2 separate regions of the Homo sapiens genome follow, and region 2 is linked to region 1. Evidence: promoter capture Hi-C in human tissues and cell types (Jung and others, 2019). All regions are on one chromosome and are shown on one strand. The core of a region is centred on a gene start or on the middle of the fragment in contact, and the rest is flanking DNA. Distances in the headings are between cores, read along the strand shown.

Region 1 (6,013 bases), core at 1,503-4,002:
GGGGCAGCACCTGCGAGCAGCACCCGCAGAAAGGCAGGCAGATTTTTGGTTCTTTCTCCTTTATTTCCTTGAAAACCACCTTACAAATGTACCCAAGGAACTGGTAGCAGTGCGGCTGGTGCGGAAGGGAATGAGGGCGGGGGTGGGAGAAGGGTAGGTTACTTTTCAAGATATACCTGTCGGCATCTACTGAGTTTTAACTTTGTGCAAGTAATTTCCATTTAAAGACAAAAACAAAACAAAACAAAACAAAACAAAACCCTTTCTAGTCTGTACCCCGATGCAGTCCACCCTACTCCAGCTACGGCTGGTGGGACCGTCCAGTCTACATCGCCTACCACTCCATTTTGCAGACGAGGAAACTGAGGCTCACAGAAGGGAAGCGACTCGGTCAGAATCACGAATGAGCAGAAGCCAAAAGAAAATGCTCTGTCAGTGCAGAGATCGCTCCAGCTTTGGAGAACGGTGGGAGCAGAAAGCTTAGGGAGTTGGCAGAGAGGACAGGGACCCCGGGAGAGAAATGGGGGCGGCGGTTGAGGCCGAGGGCAAAGAACCGGCTCTGGCAGGAGGTGGGAGCTAATCTGCCCGCCGCCGGGTCTGTGTGGCTCTCAGAATGTACTGGTGCGGGGATCTGGGGACCGCCCCCACTCTGTGGCTCAGTTTGGCCTGTGTTGGAGCCTTTCCTTTCTCCTGAACAAGGAGGAGAAAGCCCGAACCGGGCCGCTTTCCCGGCGGCCACTCATCCTGCTCAACCGGTGCCGACGCCAAGGCCCCCGGGCAGATTCCGCCAAACAACCCGTGGTCTGCGCCCTGGCACGGCCTCGGACCTCAGATCCGTTGTCGGCGAAAATAGGGTCCGAGAGACCCGATCCCGGAACGGGGGACGGCAGCGGGGTGCGCGGGCAGGAGAGGTAACAGAAAGCGGGGGCCTCACCTGTGTCGCCGCTTCTTCCGTTTCTTGGTCTGGTTTAAAGCAGATTTGGACATTTTTCGATCGCTGGAGGAAACATCTTCAGAATCTGAAAAGCGGGCGTAGGGACATGCGGCAGAGTGGGGGACGCGCTCCGCTGTGCCCGAAACCCGCGAGGGCCCCACCCCGGGCTGCCTCCGCGAGCGGCGGGGACCTGCTCTGTCTCCCCAGGAAGCCTGCGGGCGCCCCGGTGGCCGTCCCATCCCTGAGCTCAGGCTGACCTCTCCCGCGCCGGGGCCCGAATCCGGAGGTTTTGAACAGATTTCGTTGTAAGAGAGGCAAAGGCCCCGGCGCGCTTGGGACCGGGACGACGGAGAGCGAGGCAGCCTTAGGGGGCCGCAGAGATCCCCGGCAGCGCTCGCGACCCTGCTGCGCCCTGCCCTGCGCGGCCAGCCCCAATGCCCCGGGCCGGAAAGTTGGCCTCGAGGAGCGAGGAGCGGAGCGGAGGCGTGGGGAGCTGGGCTCCGGGAAGACTGGGGGCTGCCGAGCACCGTCCTTTTCGCAAGGCGGCACAATGCGTCCCTACTCGAGGCCCGAGAGCCTGCGACGCGCTGGTTTTCGTTGCCTTTCCACGTAAAACAAAGTAAAACGCAACGAAAAATCGGGGGAATTGCCAAGCTCAAACAGGAATCGGAGGTTCGAGCGGGCCGCGACACACCTCCCGGAAAGCAGCGCGGGGAGAAGGCGGAGAGGTCACCCAGGGTCCCCGAGCCCGCGCGTCCCCGGGCTCCAGTATATAGTGGCGCTTACGTGGGAGAGGATGGCGGCCGCTTTAGCTGCCGCGATGGCCGGGTTGTCTGAGCTCGTGGGGGTGAAAAATAAACCCCAGTTGACCAGCGCGGGATTTGGGAATCAGACAACTTTGGACACCAGGGATGGGGCCGGAGCCGGAACAGCATCGGGCTCGAGGAGTGCGGATCCTACACCAGGCCGGGGCCGCAGTGGAGCAGCGGTGCTGGGGCCCTCCGACACGGCCGGCGACTCTGCACCACGGGCTCCGACACCCCAAACCCAGTTTTCAGTGGGGCTCCAACAGAGTGCCGTGGCCGAGCCCTGCCCGACGCGGGGACTGGAGAACTGCGCGGCCGCCCGAAACGCTTGGGGCCGAAACCCTGCGGACGCCGAAGCATCCTCCCGGGCCCCATCACCAGGCGCGTCGGCCCAAGGCCCAGGCGGCGACCCCCGGCCTGGCAGGAACTTTTCCGCCTGGAGGCCTGGTCCAGCAAGCGAGAGCCGACGGCGCGGGGCTCCCGGCTGTCGCCCCCCAGTCAGGCAGCAGCGCAACCTCTCCTCACCTACCCGAGCTGGCCGTCTGGCTGGTGTCCAGCGGCCCCGATGCTCTGCCCAATGGCTGCAAGTGGACGCTCTGCGGGTCGGACAGCACTTCCAGGAAGGTGGGCTGCGTGTAGAAGCCAGGGAGCCCCCCGGGCCCCAGAAGCCCCATGCCGCCCACCCCCGCGGGGCTGAGCACTGAGCGCGCCGCCAGCAAGTGCCCGGGGGCCAGGCCGTCGAGCGCTGCCCGCGGGTGGGAGCTCGGGGGCTCCTTGTTCAAGCCCAGGATCTCCTGGATGCCGAACCCAGTGCACCTGGCCGGGGCGCCCCCCGAGGTACTCTTGGCCACTGTCTCGGATTTGGGCTTGCTCAGCGCTTCCCCTGCTTTCCCCGTCATCTCCCTGTTCTTTGGAGGGGCTGAGGCCGCAGGTCTTTAGCTCCCCCCACCCCCCCGCCGGGCTTCCCGCTTCGCGAAGTTGGTCCCAGGTGCCCCCTCCGGTGTCTAATGCTCTGGAGCCCAAGGAGATTCCCCTTTTATCCAACCAGGCGGCAGCCCAAGTGGGGTCAGAGCTGAGCAGCCAATCACCGGGGCCAGGAGCGATTAGGAATTCCAAAAAGCTGGCAGCTCCCGCCGCAGGCAATGTCGAATGGCCAGGGTGCTGGGGGTGGAGCACCGGGTGGGCTCTGCAGGATGCCCATGGGCAGGGACCCCAGGGGCCGAAGTGAGACAACCAGGTTCAGGTTCAGGGCTGTTCCGGGAGGCAGAGTGGCTTGGGGCTCTGGGCAGATTCTGGCAGGGACAGGTCCCTGAGGTCAGGTGGAAGGATGGGCTAAGGGCAGAGGTGAGAGACTGGGAGACCTCCTTCCCTCAACTCCTATGCAGGTTGGCAGCATCAGGGCGGCCTGAATATGGCACCTCTGTGTAAACGGTTGAACAAGGGAGAGGTAAGTGCTGGGGCAGTGTGTGTGGTGGTAAGCTGGGAAAAGATCAGGCCAAGGTGTGCAGAGGGTGATGTAGGGGTAGGGAAAGTTTGCTTCCCCAGCACAAGGTATAATGCCTAGTTCGGAAGAGCTACTCAACACATATTGGCCCAATGAATGAATGATAAATGGGTCAGAAAGAGGGGTCCCTGGTGGGAAAGAGGAACAGTGATGATTACTTTTGGAGAACAACCATGGACATCCAAACCTCTTCCTAGAGTAAGCATGAAGCATGCCCAACTTTCATGGGAGGACTTGATTCTTCCACCCAATTCATTCGACTAATATGTATTGAGCTACTAGCTCCGACCTGGTAGCCAGGGGTTCCGCAGTAAATCAGACAAGGCAAGGGCCCTGCTATACTTCAGAGTTCATTGAGCAAACAGAATGAAGAGGAAGGGATTGTTGATGTGGAGGGAGAGGAAGGAGGAAGCGGGTGAGAGGAAATTAAAAGGTAAGCTGCTTTCCCCTGCACTCCACCACCTCAGCTAACTCTTCTGTGACCTTCTTGGGGCTGGGAACTATCTTATCGACCTTGAGGCTCCCTTCTTCACTGCGCCTAGCATATGGTCAGTTCATGGTAGGTTCCTTGAATTGAAGGCACCCTATGGGGAGATAAGGACTAGGTCCATTGCTTTAAGCAGAGATTGGAAAACCAGGCTGGGAAGATTCCATCCAGGATTTCTTAGCCAGTCAGGTGCAAACCCCCAAATGGAAGGAAACCCCCTAGCCATACCTGGCCTATTGCCAAGGTGTCTGGTACCCTCGTGGCTGCCATGGGGCCAGCCTGAGAGGTAAGAGGAGGCACCTCAGGATGTGGAACCTAGACCTTGCTAGCAGGGCTGTTGTGAGGAGGGTCTCCACTCCCATTGGTTTGGTCCACATAACAGCTGGAATTAGGTAGGGGCATCTCATGGTGCAGGAGATATCTGGGAGAGTGGTGCCTCTGTATCCCATAATAAGGCCGTGCCTACTGTGTGCCTACATCATCCCAGGCCCCTTACATGGTGTCATCTCTGGTGACACAATCTCAAGGCATTCTTCACCTTATATTCTATGGAGGTGGGTCCCAAGTAACACCACTCACGTAGACAACAATGTGAATGGTGCCCTCTGGAGTTGTGCAAAGCAGTAGACTCACCTGCCAGAAAAGAATTTCTGTCCCCATTTAATGGATACACAAACTTATGTTGCCTAAGAGGTTACCTAGCTAGTAAGCATCAGAGGTCAGATGAGTCAGCGCATGAGTCTGATGTCAGAAGCTGTTTTCTTTTGACTCCATCCCTCTCTCAGCCCACTCTCCATGCCAGCCCACCCTGGGAGGATGGATGAGGATGTTATGTTAATGGCATCTGTCATGTCCCTGACTTATCATGAGACATCCACGATGAGCCAGATGCCAGCTGATGGGCAAACGTGAGTGATGGAAAACAAGTGTGTGAGTGATGAAGTTGGCTCTTGCCAGATGAGGATGAAAAATCTCTTGACCAAACCCCATGTCTGAAGCTGCCAGTTCCCAATATCAGAGAGATAGTCGCCATCCTGCTGTAGGAGGTTGGAGACCGGGACAACCCCAGGCCCCCTGAGAAAAACCCTTGCCAGAGGCTGAAGGTGAAGGGAGGACTCAGCTTCCACCTGCGGCCAGCTCCACCCTGGGAGCTGGACTCCTTGACAGACTCCTGGCTACGGGGCTGTCTCTGAGCTTTTGAGGTGTCACTGTTACTGCTCCCCAGCTGCCCAGCTTGGGCTGGACCCAGACTTAAGACATTTGTGGCCGGGCGTGGTGGCTCACGCCTGTAATCCCAGCACTTTGGGAGGCTGAGGGAGGCGGATCACTTGAGGTCAGGAGTTTGAGACCAGCCTGGCGAACATGGTGAAACCCTGTCTCTACTAAAAATACGAAAATTAGCCAGGTGTGGTGGCGTGTGCTACTCCGGAGGCTCAAGTGAGAGAACTGCTTGAACCCAGGAGGAGGAGGTTGCAGTGAGCCAAGATCGCGCCATTGCACTCCAGCCTGAATGACAGAGGGAGACTCCATCTCAAAAAAAAAAAAAAAAGACATTTGTGGACCATAACGGGGGACCCTACAAGGAAATGCAGATCCCCACAGCTTGGGCCAGGGGTGTGGGGAGTGAAGTGAACCCTTTCAGAGGCATTTAGTTTGGTCACACTGAGTCCAAACCTGGGCCTTCTCTGAGCTCATCATTTCTCTTCTCTCTTAACATCGATTGCTTTACCTAGAAAATAGCCCGATAATGGGGTTGTGAGCATCCCTTGACCCCCTGAGTTAGCATAGAGGACAAGGGCCTGGTCTCTAGAGCCAGACTGCCTGGGTTCAGATGCCCACTCTATCACTTGCTTGGTGACTTTGGGAATATTATCTAACCTCTTTGTGCCCTCTGTGCCTCAGTTTCTTCATCCATAAAATGGGGATCATAGTAGGACCCCACTCCTTAGAATTATCATAAAGGGCCAGGTGTGGTGGCTCACACCTGTAATTCCAGCACTTTGGGAGGGCAAGGCGGGTGGATCATTTGAGGTCAGGAGTTCAAGACCAGCCTGGTCAACATGGTGAAACCTGGTCTCTCCTAAAAATACAAAAATTAGCTGGGCATGGTGGTGGACACCTATAATCCCAGCTACTCAGGAGGCTGAGGCAGGAGAATCGCTTGAACCTGGGAGGCAGAGGTTGCAGTGAGCCAAGATCGCACCACCAGCCTGGGCGACAGAGTGAGACCCTGTCTCAAAAATTAAAAAAAAAAAAGAAGTGTCATGAAGGCCGGGCCTGGT
Region 2 (6,013 bases), core at 1,854-4,353, 99 kb after region 1:
GGCTCATTCTGTTTCTGTCAGAGTAAGATAGGAGAGTATAGAACACAGAAGACACAAAATAGTGTACAAAATAAGAAAGATGTTCTGTTAAACTATAGGTGTTATGCACAAAGCTTGTAGGAAATTGATAATTTATACTATAAACTATTTTCCTATTTCAAATGCACATCCCGCTTGTCCTAGCTTCAGGGAACTGATTTGTGTATGCTCTGGACTCATTCCATAGTCTATCTATAGTAAGAAACTTTATCTGAAATTTGTCTATTTGCTTATTAGATTTAGTCTTCTGATGACTTATGGAAAGTCCTAACCCAATTTGATCAGAAAGCCAAAACGTCACCAAGAGGAAGCATAGGTCCAGGGCTGAGCAAAGGTTTTTTGTAAAGAACCAAACAGACTGAATGTGGCCCACAAGCCTAACATAACATAAGTATGAATGGGACGTAAGGATGTTATGTTAGGCTTGTGGGCCACATTCAGTCTGTTTCAGATTCTTCCGTTTTTTGTTTTTGTTTTACTTTTACAGCCCCCATAAAAACGTAAAAAACATTCTTAGCTCAGAGAATACAAAAACAGGTTGCAGGCCATAGTTTGCTGACCTTTGGTCTAGAGCAGTGCTGTCCAATGTGGTAGTCATTAGCGACACATGGCTACTGAGCATTTCCTAGAGTGACTGAGGAATTAGATTTTAAATTTTATTTTTAATTAATTTAACTTCAAACAAACACATGCAGTTAGTGGCTACTGCTTTGAATAGTTTAGGTCTACAAGATCTCCAATAGCCCAGAACAGCCCCAGAAATCTCTGTATACCTACATCCCATGAATCTAATAAAGGCTTGGACAAGAAGTAAATCAGTTATTGTTATTAATAATAGCCTCCAATTATTAAATTAAAGATTGGGCATCAATTCAAATGACTAACATCAAGGACAAGAAAAGCACTGTATAAAAAGTCTGAAACAAAACTAGTTTGCATTTTGCAATTTAGTAGTATGACATCTCTTCAATATTTGGTCAAACCTCAATTTTGAAGTGTTGAGAATGGGACTAAAGAGCTTCGAGTTAAAAAAAAGACTTGCAATGCTCCCATCTTTGGCAGATGTGGAATTTCTACCATTCAATTTGCATACAGATTCTCTTATTAAGACAGATGCAACTAAAATTAAGTTTCTGTTTGACTGAGAAGACAACTGATTTCTCCTATCACTGACCTGAAATGCTCCTGGAAAATTGCTTTGCTTCATTCATCACACTGCCACTCCCAGCAAGGCCCTTAAAGTTCATGAGGCACAAACTTGCTTTGTTAGCCAAGCTGTTACACAAGAAACCTAAGTCCTCATTTCCACGTGCTGACAAATCATTTCCCAAGTCCATTAATGCGTTCAAAACTTGATTCCTGGAACTTCTGAAGTAGAAAATTAGGGGAGAAAACACTCATTCAACTTTAGAGGAAGCCGCCAGTCAGTGCCTTGGACAACACTCATCAAAGGCTATTTGTTTTCCCCACCTATCTGGGACAGAATACTTCTCATTTAACTAAGCAACAAATTAAAAGCACACAGTGGGGTGCATATCACTACACATATGTCCGGCTAATGATGCATGACAAGACTCACACTACCTCCCCCCTAAAAGCTTTACCTCCAGAATTTCCTATTTTAAAACAATACTGGACTAAAATGTAACATTCCTGAAGTAAGGAAAATCACTTCATGTAAAAGCAGAGTTTGAACTATGGAACACAAGTCAGTGGATGCAACCTGCTTGTATGGTAAGGCTTCATTTATAAGGTCCAAGTCAAACTATCTACAAAGAGTCTTGAATTGGTACATCCATATAGTGAAATCCTATGAAGCATTTGGAAAACAGTGAAGCAGATCTATGTATACTGCTGTGGAAAGATATCCAAGACATGTTGTGGGGTCAAAGATAAGTCACAAAACAGTATGTATATTATGATTGCATCTGTGTATGGTAATGTATATAAACTTTACTATGTACAGAAAATGTCTGGAAGCATCCATGGAGAAACTGTTCGTGGCAGTTACCGCTCATAAATTCAGCAGATAAGGATTTTACTTTTCACTTTATATCCTTTCATGTTATTTTAAAATATTCTTAAAATCAAGAGCTTGTATTATTTGTATAAGTTTAACATATTCCTTTAAAAGCACAGAGAGATCTTTACAGTGGTTTCCTCCAGAAACCACTTATTTACCATTACAGTGTTTGATAATTGAAATGAAAAAGTTAAAACTGTTCCTTTTGTAGTTAACATCATTGTAATGTTCCTACGATAGCTTTTATTAATGAATTTCCATGGGGGACAGAAGAGAAAAACGCACACAACGGTATTACAAAACAGAAAAAAAATAAGGCACTTGCTAGGACAAGGCAATCCACAAGTGCCAACCAGCTCCAGGGCCATAAAGATCTCAGGAGAGCCATCACATTTCAATTACCATCACTAACATTACTTATTATTTGGCCTGCTCCAGTCCCTAAGGAAGGCAGCTTGTGATGATAATACCCAGCCTCTTCTTGTAAAACAATTCATTAGGCAAAGCAGAACAGCTGGGGCAGCCACGTGCGGGTTCTTAAAGCACCGCCCCACTGGGACCTCTGGCCCAGATTTCCCTTTTCGTGACGGACAGTCACCACCCCTCTGACAGCTGTAGAGTCCTCCGGGGACACTTCAGGTTTAATCAGTACTTCCTGCACTGGAGAGGGTCATTTGATTTCTAACATAAACTAATGGCAATCCTGCTTACAGCAGGTTACACCAGACATCAGATAAGAGGCTTTAGGGCATTTTTATCTTGTTCTAATGCTCGAGAGTTAATGAGGCAGCAAAAGATATTGTCATAGAGCCCCGGTGTAGCTATATTATCCAATAAACAGACTCTTTCCAAGACAGGTTTAATATGGATCGAGGAGGTAAAGAAGGCTAGCTTAATATTGATCCTACTGAGAGGATGAGAATCCAGTCACCATAACTAGGGCAAAATCATGCACATTCTGCAGTAGACAAAGTGCTACAAGAAGGTAAGGAGTCGCCTTTAAATACTAAGAGTAAAATGCTGCTTTTTACATTTAAAGCAGCAAAACTCTACTAGACTTATTTGGTGTTTTGGGCTAAGTTATTTTTAAAAAGCTTTTAAGTGAATCTATTTTTGTGTTTTTGCTGAAGTGTTCTTAGGAGTTAAATTTTAAATTAGTAATAAAGCTATTGTGGCTTTATATTAATTATATAATCTATACACTATATATTATAAAAGGGATAGCTTTTTTACTAGCTATGAAGCATGTTTTATTACATTAAACCATAGACTGCCTTTAACTTCTAAATATCACCACAGTCTACCTCATACAGGCTTCAGAAATAATTCAATCATCCATTCAACAACACCAATAGCCTATTATAATCAAGCCTATGTGAAACACAGTGAATATAAAAATAAACTCTTGGACTCACTATGCTAGCTGCATAAAAGAAAATATTACTCTAGCAATATTTTTCTTATATCTTAGAATCTGTTTTGGTAAACATACACAAATCAGAAATCCAAGTGTTTCTCTTCTCCATACTGGAAATATCTATAGCAGGTTCTGCTCAGCAATTTTAAAAACTGACCATTTCTTGAGTGGCTTGTTCCCTGAAGATGAAAAAGAGCTGATATTTTCTAATATTTATTTACTTGGAGAAATAGCCAAAGGGAGGGGGAAAAAAAAAGGTCTGCAAGATCCTTTAACAGGAGATGTTGGGCACGCAGTCACCCATTTATGGAGCACCAAACAAGCTTAATGTGGTAAAGAAAACAAGATCACTAAGTCCATACATGCACCTGTAAAATCACTAATTCTGAGCTTCCTTCTCAACACATCACCTCACATCCTTCTACTGACCCCACTGCTCTTGCAAAGGTCTCTTGTCCCCTGCTATGGCAGAGAATATTGGCTGCCTATTCCAAGATCCATGTTCCCTCTTCCTCTGTATTAACAGATAGCCAACTTTTTTGCTACCAAAATTATAGCTCAGAATAAACAATTACATTATTTTGCAGCCAGGCCAGGTGATTTAAATTCTGTGGGACTTCCAGGAAGGCTGCTTAAAAAGAAAAGTGTCAGCTGTGTGGGATCCCTTTTTTAAATTAAATTCCTACCCCACCTTCTTGCCTACAATTCAGGCATGATGGCTAGAGCTCTAGCGTGTATAAAGTATATTTAGGATGGAAGGATGGAAACTTTAGTCCTTGATGACACCTTTGGAACTGCCCTACCTGCTAGGTGCATCTACCTCCAGCTTTCCTTTTTGTTGAAAAAAAAAAAAAAATGCTACCTTGTGTAAGCCACAATTATTTTAGATTTCCTGTTATATATGGTTGCACTTTATCATAATTAACAGACTATATATTCACAACCTTTTCACCTATATAACCCTGATAGTAGTTTAAATTGTTAAGTTATTCATTTCAAAGATGCCTTTTTTTTTTTTTTTTGAGGCAGGGTCTCACTCTGTCTCCCAGGCTGGAGTGCAGAGGATAGGGGGTGGGGTGAGGGTGCAATCACAGCTCACTGCAGCCTCACTCTTGGACTCAAGTGATTTTCCCACCTTAGCCTCCCAAGTAGCAGAGACTACAGGCTTGAGCCACCTCACCAGCTAATTTTTAAATTTTTCTGTAGAGATGGAGACTCGCTATGCTGTCCAGGCTAGTCTTGAACTCCCGGCCTCAAGTGATCATGCCACGTTGGCCTTCAAAGATGCTTTAACAACACCTTAGCAAACAAAACTGAAGTTTTATAATGCATATCTCAGTTCCACACTAAATTGTATTCTCCTAGTCACAAGGGCTTAAAATCTTGAAATCACTTTGACTCATCTCTCTAGTCTGTTACAATTTATCAATTTTCCCCCAAAATATCTTATCCATTCTCAAAAATTCCTTCCCATTCTGAAGTGTATTCTTTCCTCTTATATACAAATATTAGACATCAAATTCTATTTCAAGTTTCATCTCTTCCAAGAGGTGTTCCCTGGATTATTTACCTCACTTTTCCCTCTGTTTTCTGAATGTGCGGAACACATGCTCAGAAAGGGAGCATGGTGTGAAAAACGTTAGATCAGGCAGAGCTGTAAGGCCAAGTTAAAGGTTTTTGACTTGATCCTGAGAACAATGAGAAGCTGTTGACAGATTTTAAGAAGAAGGGAATAAGGTCACATGTCAATTTGTGTTTCAAAAATATTACTCTGACTGTGGAATAGAGTAGTTATTGGAGAAAATATCAATTCTACAGGTAATTCATTTGGAAGAAGGAGAGGATACCAGAAATAAAGGAGCTTGATAAAGCAGGCTTATTGTAAAGAGAGAACTCAAAACTCAATATTCTAGAAGAAAATGATAGTCATTTGAGTAAATATATGTTCACCACAGGAAAAAGCTGGTAAATATTTATTAAAAGAGCTACTGTGAGGCCAGGCGCGGTGGCTCATGCCTGTAATCTCAGCACTTTGGGAGGCTGAGGCAGGCGGATCACGAGGTCAAGAGTTCAAGACCAGCCTGGCCAACACAGTGAAACCCCGTCTCTACTAAAAATACAAAAATTAGTTAGGCATGGTGGTGCGTGGCCTGTAATCCCAGCTACTCGGGAGGCTGAGGCAGAAGAATCACTTGAACCCAGGAGGGAGAGGTTGTGGTGAGCTGAGATCGCGCCACTGCACTCCAGCCTGGGCAACAGAGCAAGACTCCATCTCAAAAAAAAAAAAAAAAAAGAGAGCTGCTGTGAAGAATTTAGTGCTCAATGTTCTCTTATCAAGAATGTAATGGCATTTACAATGCCAGAACTTGGACTGGATCTTGGTTTTAATAAAAATGCTACACAAGATTTTTAGGGACAATTGGGGAGGTCTGAATGTGAAAATATATTAGATTTTTTAAATTATTTTTGTTGGATGTGATAATATTATATAGAAAACTATCCTTATTCTTAGGAGATGTGTTCTTAAGCATTTA

The links. Contacts are between HindIII fragments. The study calls those that stand out against the background at their distance.
Region 2: a contact is called between a fragment that was not itself captured here and the fragment with the promoter of VSX2 in region 1, in 2 of the 25 tissues and cell types used here (dorsolateral prefrontal cortex and ovary).

Annotation. Positions count from the first base shown.
Region 1 is chr14:74,236,188-74,242,200 of GRCh38, reverse strand. It overlaps VSX2 (visual system homeobox 2), which reads right to left and starts at 2,752. Exons shown (of 5, transcript NM_182894.3): 1 at 2,270-2,752; 2 at 935-1,019. The coding sequence starts at 2,639. RefSeq lists an enhancer at 436-1,401. The HindIII fragment of the contact is 17,172 bases long and covers 1-6,013 here.
Region 2 is chr14:74,137,258-74,143,270 of GRCh38, reverse strand. The region is part of intron 5 of LIN52 (lin-52 DREAM MuvB core complex component); the gene reads right to left. It overlaps LOC105370563 (a long non-coding RNA gene), which reads left to right and starts at 710. Exons shown (of 3, transcript XR_944024.3): 1 at 710-3,047. The HindIII fragment of the contact is 4,455 bases long and covers 876-5,330 here.